Linked DNA regions of Homo sapiens: region 1 is linked to region 2. The links are contacts of gene promoters, found by promoter capture Hi-C in blood cells and fetal thymus (Javierre and others, 2016). All regions are on one chromosome and are shown on one strand. The core of a region is centred on a gene start or on the middle of the fragment in contact, and the rest is flanking DNA. Distances in the headings are between cores, read along the strand shown.

The links. The method cuts DNA at HindIII sites, captures the fragments that hold promoters and counts their contacts. A CHiCAGO score of 5 or more calls a contact.
Region 1: a contact is called between a fragment that was not itself captured here and the fragment with the promoter of DPH2 in region 2, in 1 of 17 cell types (total CD8 T cells). The highest score is 5.3, in total CD8 T cells.

The regions. Positions count from the first base shown.
Region 1 is chr1:43,533,073-43,535,794 of GRCh38, forward strand. The region is part of intron 1 of PTPRF (protein tyrosine phosphatase receptor type F); the gene reads left to right. Among named protein-coding and RNA genes, the nearest start is that of PTPRF, 3.6 kb to the left of the region's middle. RefSeq lists enhancers at 1-359, 360-859, 1,806-2,668. The HindIII fragment of the contact is 284 bases long and covers 1,215-1,498 here.
Region 2 is chr1:43,968,648-43,971,347 of GRCh38, forward strand. It overlaps DPH2 (diphthamide biosynthesis 2), which reads left to right and starts at 1,363. Exons shown (of 6, transcript NM_001384.5): 1 at 1,363-1,675; 2 at 1,949-2,061; 3 at 2,319-2,542. The coding sequence starts at 1,529. RefSeq lists enhancers at 1,394-1,673, 2,159-2,700. The HindIII fragment of the contact is 12,483 bases long and covers 1-2,700 here.

The DNA of each region.
Region 1 (2,722 bases), core at 107-2,606, 440 kb before region 2:
GTCTTTATAGTGTTTTTTTTAGTTTCCTTTATAGTTTCCTTTTCCAGCTGCTCTTCCTCTTCCCTCTTTCTTTCCTTTAACAAGAAAATTGTTTTAACATAATTCCTTCCTTCCTTCCTCCCTTTCTTCCTTCTTCTTGCAACTACTGATACCTCCCCTTTATCCAGCTTTGTGTGCCCTGGGCGGGTTGGCTTGGTGTACAAGGCTGCCAAGAGAGGAGGGGGTGGTTGGGTGTTGGTGAAGGAATTTGGCGGGGCAGAGTTAGACTGCAGCAAACGGAAACTAGCTACACATCTTTTACTGGGAAGTGTATGGATACGCAGCAAAATACTAGCCCTGGCAGTTTGGGCACAGTCCACCCTTTTTTCCATCAGCCTGAACTATGGGAGTCTAGCTTTGAGGGTCCTCCCTGGGGGCGGGGAGGAGGGGACCCAGACCTCCTGCAGTAGAGGGGTTGTGATACACACCACGGCTCCTCCACTTTCCAGCTTCAGGCCTCAAAGAGGCCCCTTTCTCCCTGAGTCTCAATTTCACTCCCTGTAAAATGGGGTAGCTAATCCAACCCGGACTGGGTCCCAGGGCTGTTGTAAGAATCCAAGGGAACTGTGTGGCAGTGCATCGTCAGCAGTGGCAGTCACTTCCCTTGTGACTGACACTGCTGTGTGCTTGGTTCCAGCTTGCAGTCAGGGCCCTACCCTCGAGAAGCTCGTGGTCCTTGGGGGAGCAGGTTGCACCATGGGATTGCAAAAGCAATTCAGTTACCTGTCATTGATTGCTGACTGTGTGCCAGACCCCGGGGTAGGCGCTTTCGGCCCCGGCTGCCTTTCTTCCTTTGGGACTAACAGCTATGTAGAAGAGGCAGCCCACCCCTAAGGTTCAGGCATCTGCTCAACTAAAGCAGCTGCGGTTCTGAGTTGGGTTAGAACATTGCAAGAGTTCATCAAGAGACGGGGGAGAGTTCGGAGGTCAGGGTGAGGTGAGTCCCAGAGGAGACCAAGAAGAAGTGATGTGAACTAGGTTTGGAGGGATGAGTAGGAGTTTGAAGAAGAGAGAAAGGACTTGAGATAGATAAAAACCAGTATGAATAAAGACTGGGAGGTGTTGTCACTTGTGAAGTATTCAGAGATGTGGCAGATCACAGAGGGCATTGAATGCCCTGTTAAGTACCTGTAATTTTACTCTGAGAACCCAGAGAGAAAACACCAAAGGTTTAAAGCTTGGATAGGGAGGGTGGAGTGTGCTGTGGTCAGGTTTATGTTTCCAGAAAATGCTCTGTGGCTATGGGAAAAGGATGGAGACAGGATGCCCAGTGGGGCAAGAGGGTGCAGGTAAGTAAGGTGAGAGAAGATGCTGGCTTTGATAGGTGGTAGCATGGTGCCATCTTGAAGGTACACTTGTCAGGACAGAATGATTTATTGGATGTGGGAGTGAAGGAGAGGAAGAGGAAGGAGTCCAGGTTCCTCGGAGTGGTTGAGCGGGCCTTCACTGAAGGCCCTGAAGCTTCACTGTGTTAGGGACTTGGTGAGGAGGGGCAGAGAATAAGCTCTTAGTTGGACATGTGGCCCTTGAGGTACTTGGGACATTGGAGGCTCAGTGGGGGAGGCACATCAAGGAGGGGCTTTGGTGTGAGGGTATGGGAGAGAAATGTCGGTCGGACCAAGAGAAGCGAGAGCTGTATGAGAGACCATAGAGCTGTGCACCTCGAGAGAAAGTAACCTCCGACAGTGGTGAAGAGCTCGAGTTTTATACTGCTAGGATTGGACTCTGTTTACTAGCAGCGTGACTTTAAGCAAGTGGCTTAACCTCTCTGAATCCGCTTCCTCATTTGTCAAATGATTATAATAAAAACCCGTGCCTTATAAGGGTTGTTATGAGGATTAAAGATAGTATGCATAAAGTGTGTGTAGCACAGGGCTTGGCATCTAGTGAGTACTGTTGTCTGTGTTTGCAGTTACTGTAATCATCCTCAACTGGGATGGTGTAAACCCACCCTCCCATCAGGGGTCACATGAGGTTGCCTTTAATGAGAAGATAGACTGCTAAGGTTAGGGTCCCTGTCTGCCTAAGGTTGCTGCAATTCTGAGCTGAGATTAGCAGGTCAAGGAGCTCAACAAAGGGGGTGCCTGCCCCTATTGTTATCGATGGGATTGTTTGTGTTGCTCAGGTGTTTGACCTTCAGGTGGGTGGGCTTGAGAAGACTAGAGGTGAGGCCTGCAGAAGAGACTCCATGTTTGGGGTAGGTGGAAGGGAATTTTGAGAAGGGGCAGCCTTGGGGTATTGAGTTCTCCATTTCCTCCCACCCTCCCTGGGCCCTGGGCTTCTACTGAGGCTCTTTCTGCCACCATCTGCCTCTGTGGTCCAGATGCACCATGTCTCTGTGTGACCGTGACTTCTAGGTCTGAGAACTCTGGTTTTAGCTCCTTAGCAGTATTTTAGCTGCTGTTTCTGGGGACTGTTCCTGGTGCAGCCACAGGGGCATTCTGGGGGTTGCTCCAGAGGGCAGCTGTGCCTGCATTCCCCTAGGTATCATCGACTTGCTCCTGACCCACTGCCGGGCCAGGTTTCAGGCCTGGCAGATGATGGGGAACCCTACTGGGGCCAGCCCTGCGTTGGCCCCAAGGGCTTTCTTTCTTGATATTGGACATGACTGTGGACTTCACCCCTTCTGAGGCCTTCCTGGGTGCCAAGCAGTGTGATTTCTTTCTTTTTCTCTTTGGTTTGA
Region 2 (2,700 bases), core at 113-2,612:
GAAGAGCAGAATGAGTTCTCCCCACTTTTACCCTTGAGCTTTCAATCTCCTTGTGGGTGATGGGGAACTCGTTACTCCCACATTCATCCCACTCCTTCCCTGTTCAATAGATCCGGGTTTGATGCTGGTTGTGCCACAGAATTAGTGTCTTATTACACAAGTAGTCTCTTTGAACCTCAGTTTCCGTATCTGACAGAGGTATGTAAGGAGGGCATTTCAAGTGATGTTGCATGTGGGGGTGTTTGCATATAAGTAAACATGGGGAGTAGAGGGGATGTGAGGGGCTGGAGGGTAGAGGTCTATGTGGTATGCACTGGGGGTATTGCTGGGAAGCAGCAGTGTTTGAGGATGGCTGGAGCTGTGCAGAGCATCTCCTGTGACTTGAGGATGTGCCAGTCATGTCCTTGGTACCACTCGGGATAATTCTTACTCCAAAGACTGTAAACACTAAAAATGAAGTGCCTAATGTACAGTAAGTGCTCAGTATTTGGCTGATTAAATAGCAAATGCTTTCACTGCATGCGATATCCAAAGAACTACTTTGTAAAGTTTTGTATATAAATTAATTAGACCCTCACAACAATCTTATTAAGAGGTACTATTGTCACAACTCCCCATTCTTCAGATAAGGAAATGGGCATAGGGACATTCCTAAGATACTCAGTAGCAAGTGACCAAGCACAATATTCAAACCCGAGCCGGTCGGCACCAAGTTTAAAATTATGCAGTGTAGCCGGGCACGGTGGCTCACGTCTGTACTCTCAGCATTTTGGGAGGCCGAGATGAGTGGATTGCTTGAGTTCAGGAGTTTGTGACCAGTCTGAGCAACATGGCAAAAACCTGTCTCTACAAAAAATACAAAAATTAGCTGGATGTGGTGGTGCGCCTGTAGCCCCAACTACTCAAGAGGCAGAGGTGGGAGGATGGCTTCAGTCCAGGAGGTGAAGGTTGTGGAGATCGCGCCACTGCACTCCAGTCCAAGCAACATAGCGAGACCTTGTCAAAAAAAAAAAAAAATGAATGAATGAAAGAATTATGCAGTGATACTGCCCAGAGGATAGAGTGCACGTGAAATGCTTAACAGTGAAGTCGGTGTTCCTGATGGCCGCGGGTCGGCTGAACCGGACTCCCAGCGCCCGAGAGGAGGCCAGGGGAACTACAATGCCCACAAGGCTCCGCGCCTTCCTCGATGTACTTCCGGCTGGCCTGGGACTCAGGCTGAACATTGGTTCTCTGTGCGGGGCGGTGGCGGGGATTGGAGGGCGGGAGCTGTGCTGACTTAGGATTGGCAAAATCGCTATCAGCCACGCCTCTAAAACCCGGAAGTAACCTCCCCGGTAGTCCCACGTGTAGCGGAGAAACAGTAGTTAGGATGGCTGAAGGGGATACTCACCGGCTGAAGGCCGACTGTGATTCCCCCTACCCCCACAAGGCGATTTTGACCCCCTGAGGGCTGCTCTAGAGGACTCAGGCCCCGAAGCTGTCCCAGGGAGGTCCCCGCTGCATCCCACCACCCAAGCTGTGCCTCATGGAGTCGATGTTTAGCAGCCCTGCCGAGGCGGCGCTGCAGCGAGAGACCGGGGTGCCAGGACTGCTTACTCCTCTTCCGGACCTGGACGGAGTGTACGAGCTGGAGCGAGTCGCTGGATTTGTCCGCGACCTGGGGTGTGAACGAGTGAGGACAGACTTAGGGAAGGGTGGCTCGCCTCTGTCGGGATGGGTCGCCCAGAGGATCCGGATCTTGGGGGATTTTGTGAGGGCGAGAGGGTGGGGGAATCAGTCTGTCCGCAGCGCGTTGACCATCCCTCCCTTCCACCTACTACGTGGGGCAGAGTGCCCCTCTGGGACCAGGGGCTTTGAAGGTTGAGTGGGAGCTCCTGGAAGATTGCTTTAAAGAAGCCCTCAGTGGGAGAGAGGCTGTCCCTGACTCCATGGTTTATGCTTATAGGTTGCCTTGCAGTTCCCTGACCAGCTATTGGGAGATGCTGTGGCTGTGGCTGCACGACTGGAGGAGACGACAGGGTCAAAGATGTTCATTCTGGGTGACACAGCCTACGGCAGGTGTGAACTTGGCCTTAGGTGGGCCAGGCCTGGGGATCCGGGGCTCATGGGGTTTTACGTCTATGACAGTGATTGCCTTCAATGGTGGTGTTTCTCCTTGATGATAATGGTAATGACTCCCCTTCTGATGCTAGCTCCTTTCATTGACAATGTCTTCCTTTAATGAAACCATTTTATTCACTGACCACATTTCCCAGTGATGACAGCAACTCGCCTCCAGAAGAGAACCCATTTCTCTGATGCTATCTTCCCTGCAGCTGCTGCGTGGATGTGCTGGGTGCTGAGCAAGCTGGAGCTCAGGCTCTCATACATTTTGGCCCTGCCTGCTTAAGCCCTCCAGCCCGCCCACTGCCCGTTGCCTTCGTGCTTCGTCAACGTTCTGTGGCCTTGGAGCTCTGTGTCAAGGCCTTTGAGGCCCAGAACCCAGACCCCAAAGCGCCTGTGGTGCTGCTGAGTGAGCCGGCCTGTGCCCATGCCCTGGGTAAGGGGTTTTGCCTGTGTATGCACAAAGGGTGAGCCAACTGCTTTATGCCTTAATTTCCCCATTTCCATATACCATCCATAGAACTCTTGATATGGGCTTGGCCCCAGCCTACTGGGTCATATTTAGTCTCCTGGGGATGAGGGAGCTCCTGCTTT